Regions from separate parts of the Homo sapiens genome. Here regions 2 and 3 are each linked to region 1. Evidence: promoter capture Hi-C in 16 types of primary human blood cells and fetal thymus (Javierre and others, 2016). All regions are on one chromosome and are shown on one strand. Each heading gives the region's core, a stretch centred on a gene start or on the middle of the fragment in contact. The rest is flanking DNA. Distances are from core to core; before and after follow the strand shown. Region 1 holds the start of PRG4 (proteoglycan 4). Region 2 has its middle 94 kb from the start of EDEM3. Region 3 overlaps SWT1 (SWT1 RNA endoribonuclease homolog).

What was found. Contacts are between HindIII fragments. The CHiCAGO score rates a contact against its expected background, and 5 or more counts as called.
Region 2: a fragment that was not itself captured here is called in contact with the fragment with the promoter of PRG4 in region 1 in 1 of 17 cell types (total B cells); the score reaches 5.2 in total B cells.
Region 3: a fragment that was not itself captured here is called in contact with the fragment with the promoter of PRG4 in region 1 in 1 of 17 cell types (non-activated CD4 T cells); the score reaches 5.1 in non-activated CD4 T cells.

What each region holds. Positions count from the first base shown.
Region 1 is chr1:186,294,442-186,299,268 of GRCh38, forward strand. PRG4 (proteoglycan 4) reads left to right here and starts at 1,838. Exons shown (of 13, transcript NM_005807.6): 1 at 1,838-1,852; 2 at 2,405-2,510. The coding sequence starts at 2,435. The HindIII fragment of the contact is 3,679 bases long and covers 1-3,226 here.
Region 2 is chr1:184,658,740-184,663,566 of GRCh38, forward strand. No RefSeq gene overlaps it. Among named protein-coding and RNA genes, the nearest start is that of EDEM3, 94 kb to the right of the region's middle. The HindIII fragment of the contact is 734 bases long and covers 2,588-3,321 here.
Region 3 is chr1:185,290,452-185,295,278 of GRCh38, forward strand. It overlaps SWT1 (SWT1 RNA endoribonuclease homolog), which reads left to right. Exons shown (of 19, transcript NM_017673.7): 19 at 223-1,330. The coding sequence ends at 352. It overlaps LOC105371651 (a long non-coding RNA gene), which reads right to left and starts at 223. Exons shown (of 3, transcript XR_922360.3): 1 at 1-223. The HindIII fragment of the contact is 1,611 bases long and covers 1,455-3,065 here.

The DNA.
Region 1 (4,827 bases), core at 588-3,087:
GAAGATAACATATATAACCAGAGCTAAAAGGAAAATAGCCCGATAGAAAGAGAAGTAGTTCCCAGAAAAGGGGGATTATTTAGAGATGAGCAGATAGCCTCGAAATTGTCTTTACATATTTAGTCCTGTGAAATAAGCACTGTAGAAAGAAAATAGATGCTTATAATTCTAGTCTTAAAAAAGTCACAATCTCACAAACCTATGTATACATGTAGAGTAAAGGAGTAAAATTTAGTATAATGATTACAAATTAAGTGATGGTTTTGATCAAAAGGGAGCTGGATGTAGTGGAAACATGACGGAACTTAAAATGCAAAGACATGGGTTCAAATCTTGGTTCTGGCCTCTAGTCTTTATAGATCCTTGGATGGGTCACACATTCTTCATTTGTGGGTCTTCATCTTCTTATTTGTAAATGTGGATGATTATATTTAACTTTAAGACATTTTGTGAGAATTAAATGCAGTACCTACCAAATGAGTAGTAGACAGCAGAATCCAGCCTACAACCATGTGGTTCACTGAACATGTTTTCTTTTTTTTCTTTTCTTTTTTTTTTTTTGAGACTGAGTTTTGCTCTTGTTGCCCAAGCTGGTGTGCGGTGGCGTGATCTCAGCTCACTGCAACCTCTGCCTCTCAGGTTCAAGTGATTCTCCTGCCTTAGCCTCCCGAGTAACTGGAATTACAGGCGCCTGCCACCACACCCGGCTAATTTTTTGTATTTTTAGTAGAGAGGGAGTTTCACCATGTTGGTCAGGCTGGTCTCAAACTCCTGACCTCAGGTGATCTGCCCACCTCAGCCTCCCAAAGTGCTGGGATTGCAGGGGTGAGCCACTGCACCCGGCGTGAGCATGTTTTAAACATATAACATTGGTGAAACAACTGGGCTGTATGTTGGCAATAGACTAACATATAGGTGTTGGTTGTCCTTAGGGAAATCATAGTCTGTTGGGGGTGTGAGACAGATGAAGAGATATTTTAGTAAAACGTAGTACAATTGTTTACTATAATTCTAGATGTGATTGGAATTTGATCTGGAAAGGTTTCAGGGAGGTGCTAGGACATGAGCGAAGCCTTATGTTGGTGGGTAAGATTTTACACCGATACATTCCGTATGAAAGTGGGGTAAAGCCTTGGGCTGAGCTGACTTAGCTCTGCAATGGTGATGGTTCACATTTTCATTGTGGGAAGGAAACAAAATTAGTAATTTAAAAGACCTTTTCCAAACATGCTTATCTTAAAGGAAGGATCTAAGGAAAATATCAATACATTTTTTAAGCAGATTTTTAAAATAATAAAGGAAGCTAGAAAATCCAGTGTCAATAATCTACCTGTAGGTAACTGAGAGCATGTTTTCTGTGCTCAGAGAAAATGAAACTACTCAAGAAATGTATATTTGATATAATGGTATAAGTATATAAAATGTATGCCACAAGCTAACACTAGGTAAATTTCAAAGCTACCTTTGCTAGATTTAACTGGAAAGCAGAAGAAATAAATGATACCAGTATGTGAATATTTTAAAGTTGCTGCTTCAATATACTAGTCAAAGTCTGCCAGAGCTATTTACCATCTCAGGACAATTTGTTCACTTCACTTAGAAATTAGAAATGTGCTCTGGCCAATACATCTAAATTTATTTTGTGGTAGTCATTTTGCTTAATGGAAGTGTTTTCCAGATGTTGCCTAAGTCTAGTCGTCTGGGCCCTTTTCCAATAAATGAGGAAAGTTTGATTTCATAGGTTGTCACTGTTGATTTTGTCTAACCTTTGGACTAATTGGTTCATCCCACTGTATTTGCACTGATATATAAGACTCCCAGGACGTGGGATAAACTCATCTATCCTTTACGGGTAAGTGTCAAAGTTAACTTGCTTCATAGAATTAAATGTGTTTTCATTAGAGGTGTTTGAAAAAAAATGTGTAAAGATAGTAGTTGGAAATTTTTGAAAAGGATTATGTTTATGCAATACACCTGTTGGAAGCCTTTGAATTTATATTGAGAATTAAGAAAAAGTTGGAACAGTAACTCCATGATGCTTATTAAATTACATTTCTGTGACACAGGTTATTATTTTCCTTAAGATAAAATTTTAACCTTGCACTGTTAAGTACATGCCATACTTTGGCTAGAGTTTTAAGATAAGTCTATTCTATATTGGAGATTTCTTAAGAATTAAAACTGTCAATAACGTGGCTGAGGGTGACTTGATTTGTTCTGCATAAGATTAAGTCTAATGGCCAAATATTTTCTATAAAATTAAAGCTGATTTAAAGTCTTGTTTCAAGAATGGGATGGTTTTATTATTGTTACATTTTTAAAGTTACTGAAATGTGTATAATGCAAGCCTAAGTTAGTGGTGAGATGAAAGAGCTGTTTTCTGATACTTTTATTTTATTTTCAGCAAGGGTACCTACGGTACCTGAAAACAACGATGGCATGGAAAACACTTCCCATTTACCTGTTGTTGCTGCTGTCTGTTTTCGTGATTCAGCAAGTTTCATCTCAAGGTAGCTTAACCATCGAACATACTTTTATTTAACAACTATTGCTAATCATTCAGTCTTGATTTTTATAACAACGGAAATATATTTCTAAAAATTTATATTTGCTTGAGTTTAATATACTGTACAACCTTAAAATAATATATAACATGTAGCCTGTTTGTAAGTGCTTTGGAATTCTCATCTTTTTCTCCTTTTGAGAGTTTTGAGCTTGTATAAAGAATAATTTTGGTACTTGTTATTTCTATGGTTCTCTCGAAAGTTTAAAAAGTGCAGACAGTTCATCATAAAATTATGCTGGAGCTATATAGTATCATAAAAATAACTAAAAAAGAACAATATTTAGATAACATGTAATTTTTGCCTATATGTTGAACAATTTGTTTTTTAAAATCAAATAAATTATTGATAAATAACTTATTTTGGCATCATTTAGACATAGATACCATATTATAATAAACTATAGTGTTTCAAATGGCATTTTATTAGTCTTGAAAATGTTCTCTTTTTCTTACAAGAACTATTTATCCAGGTATGGACATATACAGATGTGACTGTCATTTTGTGTTATAACATTAAACTTTTCACAGTTCTCCCAAAACAGGTCCTGGATGAATAGTTCTTGTTACTCATTTTTAGAGACTGTTAAAGTACATTCAGTGAAATCACATTAGTAAAAGATGCTAGCATGCCATCTAGGGGGATTAATAGTAACAATGCCAAGCTTTGGATTTTTCTTTTCTTTTCTTTTCCTTTTGTTCCCCTTTGATAAGCAAAATCTGAGAGAATAAAAATCAAGATTCATGACAGTTATGATGAAATTATGTTTCTAAAGTAAACATTTCCAGTAAAATACGAGATTCTTATGAAACCTGAACATGAGTGGTAACTGTCTGCATAGGCATAAGTTGCAGAATTGTTTAGATAAGAAAAGACAGGAAAACACATGAAAGCAAATGTGAATATTCAATAAGAATGATGACTACTCCAGTATCTCCAGACCCTTCGGCTTTCTCGTAACACTATGACAAGGTTCACAACACTGGGGGCACTTTCTAAACTGCCTTTTCCTCTGTGATACAATTGGTTGTTCACTAAAACAGTGTTACTTTCATTTTAATTGTGATTAAATAAATCAAATTAAAATTAATGGGGCTGGGTGTGGTGGCTCACACCTGTAATCCCAGCATTCTGGGAGGCCTAGGGAGACAGATCACCTGAGGTCTGGAGTTCAAGAGCAGCCTGGGCAACATGGCAAAATCTTGTCTCTATACAAAATACAAAAAAATTAGCCAGGTGTGGTAGTGTGTGCCTGTAATCCCAGCTATTCGGAGGCTGAGGCAAGAGGATATCTTGAATCCAGGAGGTGGAGGTTGCATTAAGCTGAGCTTGCATCATGGCACTCCAGCCTGGGCAACAGAGTGAGACTCTGTCTCAAAAATAAATAAATAAATAAATAAAATTAATGGTTACAATTAATAGCAATAAAAGTAGGACAGACACCTAATCTATGAAAGTAAGCTTTTCCTGTAAGGATGATTTCCTCTTTTTTTTTTTTCTTTTGAGACAGGGTCTTGCTTTGTCTCCCAGTCTGGAGTGCAGTGGCACAATCTTGGCTCACTGCAACCTCCACCTACGGGGTTCAAGCGATTCTCCTGTCTCAGCCTCCCGAGTAGCTGGGATTACAGGCCCCTGCCACCATGCCCGGTTAATTTTTGTATTTTTAGTAAAGACAGGTTTTCACCATGTTGGCCAGGCTGGTCTCACCTGACCTCAGGTGATCCGCCCGCCTCAGCCTCCCAAAGTGCTGGAATTACAGATGATTTCTTATTTCAGAAATCTGCCAACTATAAAAGAGCAATCTCTTGATACTGTCTTGTCTGCTTCTCTTGCTTTCTCAACCTCTTCTCATTCTCTTTTTTCTTTATATATAATATATGTATTTATATACATACACTATATATACATTTTTGTATGCATTATGCACTCATGTACGCAAAAAGTTCTGAAAGTTGTCCTACAATTTACTGTTTTATTTGCATATTCAGACTTTGGCATTCCTGGACTCTATTCTTTTAAGATTTGTTTTCAGTGTGTTTCAACATTCCTTTGTGGATTTAGGACAGTACACCTGCCAATTTCTATTCCAGGGATGGATTCCATTGTCACATTTCTGCAGTCATTTCTCAGGGAGGGTTTTAAGGTGGTGTTTTCCAAATGACTTTTAAAAAATATTTGAGAATGAGTATGCTTTTGTTATTGTTTGCTTATTTGTTGCCTGGAAAACCTCTGTTCATGACCTTTATAGTTATGCCCAGTTATT
Region 2 (4,827 bases), core at 1,705-4,204, 1.6 Mb before region 1:
CTAACATTCTCATGTTCATGTAACAATATAAAAACATGTATACATGTATTTAAGGGTTGTCAATATTTGTTTTACAAAAATGTTTTTTCCCTATACATTCTCTGAAGTTTGTTCTATCACTTAAAAACGTTTTGTGAAAATCTCTCCAAATCAATTGGTAAAGCTCTATTTAAATAGTGCCCAACATTACATGGTTAAGAATATGCCATGATTTTACCCATTCCCCTTTCAATGAATTCTCAGTTTGTTTCTTGATGTTTGCCACCACAAGCAATGCTGCAGTGAATATCCTTATACTGGTGGCTTTATTTCTATAGAACAGACTTCCAGTAGTTGAACTGGTAGTAAAGTCCTCCTTTGCTACTCTCTCCTCATTATTTTATGTGTATTCTTGGACATACATAGTCTTCCACATGAATCTTAAAAAATTCTGTATCTAATTAAATAAAAACCTTACTTAAATTCCACTTAAATTAAAATTCCATTAATTATACATGTTACTATTGAGGAAAATGACATTTTTATGGTGTGAAGTTTTCCTTTCCATACTATATATTTTGATTACTTTTCTGATCTTGCTTTAGATCATTTGATAAAATATTATAGCTAACTTCATATGGCTCCTGTGCCTTTCAGGTCTATATTTATATCCTGTAAAATTTTCATATTAATTCTAATATTATGATATTTCTTGAATTTTCTAGGTATAAAATTACATTACTAAAGTATGATCTTTCATCTCTTCTTTTTCCATATTTATGCAAAATATTTCAATTTTTGCCTTCTTGCATTTACTAGAATTAACTAATGTTGAATTTTGGGGATAATGAGCATGTCTTTTCTGTTCTTGATTTTAATGAAAATGGTATTCTCATTTCATTATTTATGATGATGTTTGCTATTGATATTTGTTCATCATTATCATATTTTCATACTTTTCTATTTATAACTTTACTTAGTTTTTTGACTAATAATGTGCTTTAATATACTGATATAATGAATTTCATTAATATATTTATTAATATTGAACCATTCTTATATTCTTGTATTTTTATAATAAGCCCTCCTTGGTCAAATATTATTACTATTATGATACATTGTTCTCTTTGCTCATTCTTTCTTAAACATTTTTGCAATAATATGTATTAGTATGCTTGCATGATAGTTTTCTTCTGTTTTAAACCTTTTAAAGCTTTCCCACTCAAGTTATTCTCAATTTATTCATAGGGAATTTTTTTCTTATTTTCACAGTTATGTGTATCTCTTATGGAATCCTGTAGCTAGAATTTTCTTCCTAATTTGTTTTTTAACTAATTTTTAACTAATTTAAAAGCTGAAGAAAACAATGATTTTAAAATGCAAGCCACTGTTTCCTGAAAAGACTGAAACTCAAATTCACTTTTGGTAGACTGTCCTTTTATTCTGGGAAAACCATATGAAGAAACCGTGTGGTTTCATAAAGTTTATTCAGAAAAAACCTAGTAAAATCATCCCTCTCCCAAAAGAAATATTTTTGCCTCAGAAGCTGAGTGTTCTGCAGGGTGATGCTAACATGTGTCTGCTTGTGCCAGAGCTCAGATTTCTGTAGACTGGGTTATGTTTTCTTCTGACTGGAGATTTCATGTTTGTTTTATGGTGAGGAGGGAGGGAAAGAGAAAAATAGGAGAAATGTTTTCCTTTTCTGAATGATTTAGAATGCACCCTATATCAAACGCATGAGGATTTTTAAAGCATAATTTGCAAGATGTAGAGAGCTGGAAAGAAGTGCTACAGGACCAAATCCCATGTATGACACAGTAAGAAAGAAATGGACTGGCCTAGGGCAGCTCTGCCTAAACCATTTTGTAAGATTAAGCCACCCAGAATCTGCTGAAGAGAAACCAGCTTGAGGTGGCTGTCCCACCCACTCCCCACCTGTGTGTGTAAAATGGCATTCCCCAAGAAAGAGGCAGTCATTCCCCCTTTGAAAAAATGCTGAGAAAGGGTAGATCCTAACACAAGAAATGGAGCCTGGGAAGCCAGGCCCTGAGTTGGGCTGAGGCAGAGAGCATTTTCTTCTCTCCTGACCTTGGGCAGTTGGGTCTGGACAGGAAGTCATGATGCAGGGGTGGGCAGGCCCAGCCAGTGGAGCCTGGCCCCAAAACCCTCTGCAGAGGCCAAGGATAGGCCCACCTGGACCTGTGAGCCCTGACAGTGGCCACCTCTAACATTAATTATGACCTATTCTCTACTGTGTCCTACTTCCTTTTTGATGTCCCCAGCCCTTCAGAAAATTCCTCTAAAGAGCACCAATACTGAGGGTAGTGAAGGAGGCTGCTCCCTCACTGTGGAGGAAGAAGAAAGCTGTGTCTTCTCTGCCACGCCACCTCCCCAAAAGCAGATCACTGTGGGAGTGTAGTTAGTCCCCCGCCTCTATCTCTCCAGGGTCTGCCTCAGTTGCAGGCAGTCTCCTTGCCCCTGACATTCCCTTCCTGGGCAGCTCTCATATGGAGACTGAGCAAAGCAGCTTATTAAAATCCTGGCCCAGGTGGCACAGAACATTTGAAGGGCAATGGTCTCTCCGGAGATTCTTCACCTGGTTGCCGGAAGCTTTATTGGGTCTGCATTGAAGCTGTCTTCCCAGGCCCTATTCTCTTTCTTTTCTTCCTTTCCAAGGTGTTGATCTCTAAAACACCATGAAGTCCTCTTGAAGAACGCTGTCCTTGCTTCTGCCTTTGGAAAACCCAAACTGCAAGGGCAAAGGGCACAGAAGCAGTGGTGTGCTGACAGAACAGAGAAGTGGCAGAAGAAGACTATAGCCTGCACCTGAGCTCCTGGAGGTGGGGGTGGGGAATCTCAGAAGTAATTGACAGGGTCAGATGAAGAAGACAGACCAGTGATCTGTGAACCCTTGTAGCGCACGGACCCTCTGACTCTGATCCTTGCCACCTGCCTTCTATGGCAAAAGAGACTGCTGTGTTTGTTCATCGATCAAACTCCTTCCCACAAGTTTCTCTTGGCCAAGAATGTCTCTTCAGCCCTGAGTTTCCCATTTACTAATAGGTCTTTGTCACTCCAAGTGACAAGGCTTCCCATCTCCTGCAGTCTTATCCTCTAATCCAGTTATTTCTGTTTTTGGAGCATAAACAATAACTCCCCAGGTTTACCCTTTTAGCTTCCCCAACGCTTATGCTTCCCTATTCTTTCCTCCAGTTAGAGCAAGAGCAATCAGACCAAGATTTCAGCTCATGTTTATCACACACCATCTCAACAAAATCTACTAATGCTTTACAAGCCCTCACAAGCATTTCCTGCAGGCTCCACCACTTTGAGAAAAAGCAAAGCTTTTGAATTATCCCTGCTAGTGGTGTGCTGGTAAAATCAGCTCTCTGAAAAGTACATACATACATAGAGAACAATATAGCATTTGCTGATTTCCAATTTTGGTGGTGTAAATGCTCATACCATAACAGATTTCAAGCTACCAGTGAAATTTCACAGGCTTTTACAACCAGCTTGTAAAGTTCCTGAGTATTTAACATTGGCTTTTGATATCCTGTAGGAGCTGGCTTCAGCAGCCACTGGCAGGGCTATCCTCCAATTCTCCAGGTCACCCCCAACCAGCACCCATCTTATTCTCTTAGCAATGTCCTTGACTAACATAATTTTGTCATGACAGCATTCACCATGGCCCACACTGTCTTAGAGACACATTGCCTATCTGATCTCATTTAATCCTCACAAAATCAACCATCTTTATCTCCATTTCACATATCATGGTTACTACTGGAGGCTTATCACCTTTCATCAGACCTGCACTACACATAAAACATAACACACTGCATTGTTGGGCAAAGCAGTGCAGCCCTCTTACAAGTATTTTTTTAACACAATAAAGTTCTTTCAAGTGTAAATTTATTTTTCCATGACAAAAATAATGAACCACTTTGCAAAGAAAATTGGAAGGCAACCATTAATTCTTAAATGTGTTAAGATTATTTGATGTCATGGTAAAATGTTTATGAAATATTACATTTTAAAAGTGTAGTATAGTAACCTACAATGTGATACCAATTCTGTAAAACAGTAAATGTATTAATGAAACACTCTAAGTAAAGGAAAAGTGAGTAGTTATCGCTCTTTTTTAGTATGTTTTAATTGATATATCATGGTTATATATATTTTTGGGGTACATGTGATATTTTGATACATGTATACAACATGTAATGATCAAGTCAGGGTAATTGGGATGTCTGTCACCTCAAACATTTATCTTTTTTTGTGTCATGAACATTATAATTCTTTCCTTGTAGTTGTTTTAAAATATACAATAAATTATTATTCATTATAATTTTTTAATTAAATATTTTTAAAATTTTTATTATTTTTATTTTTTTTAGAGACAGGATCTTGCTGGTCACCCAGACTGGAGTGCAATGGTGCAATCATAGTTCACTGCAGCCTCGAACTCTTGGGCTCAAGCAGTCCTCCTACCTCAGCCTCCAGAGTTGTTATCTATAATTTTGAACAGTAGTTATCTGTAACAGTGAGAAGCAAAGGTTTTCCTCATTTCCTCTTTTACAGTTTCTGTATTTTCCATAATTGATACATCATCACATATTACAATTATGATGAGAAAACATGATACATATTTTTATTTGGAAAATACATAAATAAAAACAAAATCTATGACCTCACCGTTCAGACTCAACATCTCTTCCATTTTGATGTCATGCGATGTTTCTGACGGAGGTTTAATTGAAATGAAACAGCATCAATAAGCATGGGCTCCACAGTCTTCCCACATCGCTCTGAGTGCCCGGGGAGGGACTGGGGACTCCCCCCACA
Region 3 (4,827 bases), core at 1,010-3,509, 1.0 Mb before region 1:
ATTTTACATGTCCTCGCCACAAAAATAAGTGTGTGGAATAATGCATATGTTATTTAGCTTGATTGAGCCATTCTACAATATATACCTAGTTCAGAATATCATGTTATACATAATATATATATATTTTTTATTTGTCAATTAAAATGTAAAATAAAATGAAAAAGAATTTTTATTTCTCTGACTAGCTGTCTTGCAATGATTTAATATTTCTTTTTCTCCTAGGGAAAAGTTAACCATTGGATGCCGCCAGCTGGTTGAGATGGAATATACCATGCAGCAGTGCAATGCATCTGTTTATATGGAGGCCAAAAACAGGGGATGGTGTGAAGACATGCTCAACTATAGGATATAAGTACTGATTTGTAACTTTAAAGGAATTGCATTTGTCCTTAAGAATAACAGAGTAGTTTTCAATCTGGTCACTCTTTTGGGCCAAACCCAAGAGAATTTTAAGAAATGTTTCATAGGTATAAAAAGGTGATCGCCTATTACTGACAGTCTCATTGTAGCTCTAAAAAGCCTAATGTATCCACTGTGGAATAAACTCCATAGACTCAACTCTTCTGGAGTTCACAATGCCTCCCTACCTCTATTCTTGATAGTGAGCCAGTATCTCTAAGGAAAGGAGAGCCGTATTTTTAGTCATCCTAGGGCAGGAGCCACTGTGGCATCTGAGGAAGACCCAGGGTACAGTATTAGCATTTCTTTCAACCCTAAGTATGGGCATGTGACCAGAGACACTGCCAAACCCTAAGAAATCATTAGGGCATGATCATGCTCACCATATTTCACAAATGAAATCTTAATGTGGGCTGTTTTTTATGATCAAACTGTCATCCATGTTGACCTGATGAAAATAACACCCTCCTTCACCTCCCTCAGGGTAATGAAAGTAGAAATTTGACTGAAGCTCCTACTTCCTTATACAGCCTTTCCTTCTGTGGGCTTGTCACTTTTCAGTACATTTCTAGTGGGGAAGAGCAGGGCGACCCCTCTGCTGGGTTTCTCCTTAAATGTGAAGCAAAATAAATTTATATAATGGAATTTGGTGGCAGTGACTGATGTTTGTCTCTAGCTAAAACCAACTGTTTAGTTGACTTTTTAGTTATAGGATAAGTTGGAAGTCCTTGTTTACTGGAATATATTATGCTTTTGTTAACACATTAGATTAAATAGAATTTGGTATTCTATTATAAATGTTTATTTTTTAAAGCAATAAATAACTTATTTTTGGTAAGATTTGGCTTTTTACTTCCAAATTGTTTCTGATATGTACATAAGGTATGATTATAAAAGTGACTGTCTGCAATAAAAGAGAACTTGTTCAGGATATTCACTAGTTGGTGTAGAACCTGTTAAGCTTTGGGTTTGCCAGATTAGGGAACCACACCACCAGCCGCACAGATGGGGCTCAAAGTGCTGTCAGAGATTATGAGCTTCTGGGCAAATGGGGAAGCTTTAAGAGGGCATCTCTGCTCTCTGCCTCTTTCCTTTTCTTTCCTGAGAAGCCAAATAAATATACATTCATCTGTTGCCTGCTGACCCCCATGAAAAGAAGTTTTTTCAGACCCTTATCCTTCAACTTCTAGTTGTTATTGTTGGGTTTTTGTTTTTCCTTGTTCTGGTAACTCCTCTTTTTTTTTTTTTTATCGCTTTAATATAGGTTAATCCTTTCCTTAAAATTTCTTTTCAGTCTTATCACATATTTACCCTTATGCCTACTTCAGTCTTATATAAAAAACTTTTTCAATATTATTGAGATGTGAAGATGTCCTTTTTTAACTTTCTAGTCTTTTTTATTCAAAAACATTGTTTTAAAATTTTTGTTTTAGCTTTTATTTCTTCCATTTGAAATCATTTGAAATGTCAGGTCTTGCTTTTTTTTGTTTGTTTTTCCCTCTCCCTTCTTTGTTGCTTTTTTTTTTTTTTTATGATCGTAAACTTTATTACTTTTCTATTTGTTGTCCTAATCATGTAATGCAGGGGTTGAGAGTTCCTTTACTGTTTTGCAACTTCCTTTTTTTTTTTTTTTTTTTGAGGCAGAGTCTCACTCTGTCACCCAGGCTGGAGCGTAGTGGCTCGATCTCGGCTCACTGCAACCTCCGCCTCTTGGATTCAAGCAGTTCTCATACCTCAGCTTCCCAAGTAGCTGGGATTACAGGCATGTACCAGTATGCCTGGCTAATTTTTTTTTTGTATTTTTAGTAGACACAGGATCTCACCATGTTTGCCAAGCTGGTTTTGAACTCCTGACCTCAAGTTATCCACCTGCCTTGGCCTCCCAAAGTGCTGGGATTACAGGCATGAGCCACTACACTTGGCCTTTGAAACTTACTTTTACAAAAGATAGTTCATTTCTCTCCTGGGAAGACCAGCGAACATCCTCTGGTTTGGAGGGCCTCCAGCTCTCTCCATATTCTGAGCCAAGGAAAAGCTGGCTAAAGAATTGAAGTCTGTTGTGTCCCCACAGGGTCCTCTTGTTAAAACCTGCAGTGGTCAATTGTGACTGCACAGACTAGAACTTCACAGATGGGTTAATCCCACTTTCACATTGTGGATCTTTGACTGTCACATGAAAGACCAGGTGACACAAGACACATCTGAAGCTCTATTTCCTTGCTATTTTGAACATTATTTTAAGGGAGAACGAAAGTCCTTTCATTGTCAGTCCAGGTTTATTTAGATGGTGTCTTGGTCAGCTTTCAGAGCCTAGGTCACATTGTTCATATTCTTGACTTTTTGCTCTCTTAGCTAGCATGACAGGTTGGGATGAATTTCCCTCTTTCCTCAAAGTCTGGTGACTGCATCCAGTCTCTAAGGATGTGATGCTACCCATGGCCCTTTTCTGACTTCGAGATTGGACAGGCCAGTCACACTTCTATTTATTGGGTATATATAAAACCCACTCCAGTGAACAGAACTGAGCCCCATGAAGGCAGGAACTACACTGTGTGTAGTGTCTCATAGTTGTGGTTAGTTAATATTTTTGACAAATTGACCTGCAGGCTCACCTACTCTAAAACAAAAGACATACTTTACCTTTGCCTACCAAAGTTTGACTTGAAAGCTTTTAAGTTTGTCTGGTCTGTCAGGTGAAAAGCCACTCAGTAAAGTCAAACAGATACACCTCTTAGATCTTGGAATATGGCCCACAGAAATGGATTCTTCTGGAGCCAGAGTACCTCAAGATGTTGGCTTTCCTGAGGGTTTTAGTATTATATATACTTGTATTTTTAAAAATCCATCTCTGTATTCATGGAATTCTTTAATATCTTTGGCTGTTGTTAAAAGCAAGAATTGGCCACCCTGAGGGTTTGTAGACTAGTTTTGGCCTGTGACAGGAATCCTTTTTAATTCTAGCTTTGTTTATGAACTAGATGTAGTTTGTCTCAAATTAATTCTCGATGTTGAAAACACTGAGGACAGATTCTTGAGCAGAATTACCAGTTATAAGCCTGGAAGGTGAGGTGGTGGACACCCAAATCCGAGCTACTAGCTTGGTTCAGTCTTCTTAAAGCACAAACCATTTTCAACATCCTATTCTTTATTTCTAATGAGGTAAAATATGGACATGTTCTAGCCCTTCTTCTAAGCTTGATATTTTAAAGGTTTGGTACCACTTTGGTTAAGCTAGAAAAACAAAACTTTTTTTCCTTCGTAAGTGTAGAGTTCTGTGAGTTCTGTCAAACATGTAATCAATCAATCATCAGCAGTCAAGATATTGAAGTCACACCACCCCTAAAAATTCCCTCATGTCCCTTTGTAATTAACTCCCATTCCCAGCTCAGGAGGCCATTGATGTGTTTGCCTTCCCTGTAGTTTTTCCTATTCCTGAATGCTATATAAATGGAGACTGTTTTTTTAAGAGACAGGGTCTTGCTATGTTGCCCAAGTGCAGTGGCTGTTCAGACATTATAGCATACTACAGCCTTGAACTCCTGGGCTCAGGCAATCCTCTCACCTCAGCCTCCTGAGTAGCTGGGACTACAAGTGCATGCCACTATGCCCAGCTAATGGAGGCTTTTGAGTCTGGCTTTTTATTTAGCATGATGCTTGAGACTTATCCATATTATCAGTAGTTCATTATTTTATTCCCAAGAAGTATTGCATTGCCATGGATGTACAAATTTATTCATTCACCAGGTGGAAGGCTACTTCACTGAATTCAGTTTTTGGTGATTATGAATAAAGTTGCTATATTCACATACAGGTTTGTGTGAATATGTTCCTTCACTTGGGTAAATACCTACGAATGGGATTGCTTTGTCACAGATTATTAGAAAATGGATGGATTGTTTTTTAAACTGCCTGTGCACCTTTGCAGTTCCTCCAGCAATGTATGAGAGTTCAAGTTGCTCTGCATCGTAAGCAGAATTTGGTATATTCAGTTTCAATAGGTGTATGCCATTTTGGTTTTAATTTACATTTTCTTAATGATTTATGATAGTATTTTCCTGTGTTCTTATGGCATCAACTTCTTTTGCAAAGTGTCTTCAAATATTTTACCCATTTAAAAATCGTTTTAACAGATCTCATCTTATTACCTTGCTGGACATTTCATCTCAGTAGTTTCATTACTCCAAGTTAGGTCTTTCTGTGTGCCTTTTTTTTCTGGCTAAAATTATGTTACTTCCTTTGGTCATCCTGAGCAAGTGTGTGGCCTCTATTCAGATATATGCCTCTGTTAAAGGCATTCCACACAGATCCAGCATAATGATTGAGTTTTGCTTCTCACCTTTGTTCTCTCCACCCAGTAAGGTGTGGAGCTGTTAATAAAGTTCATTATTTTATTGGCCAAGATTATTGATGCTCATAGGTTGAAGAACC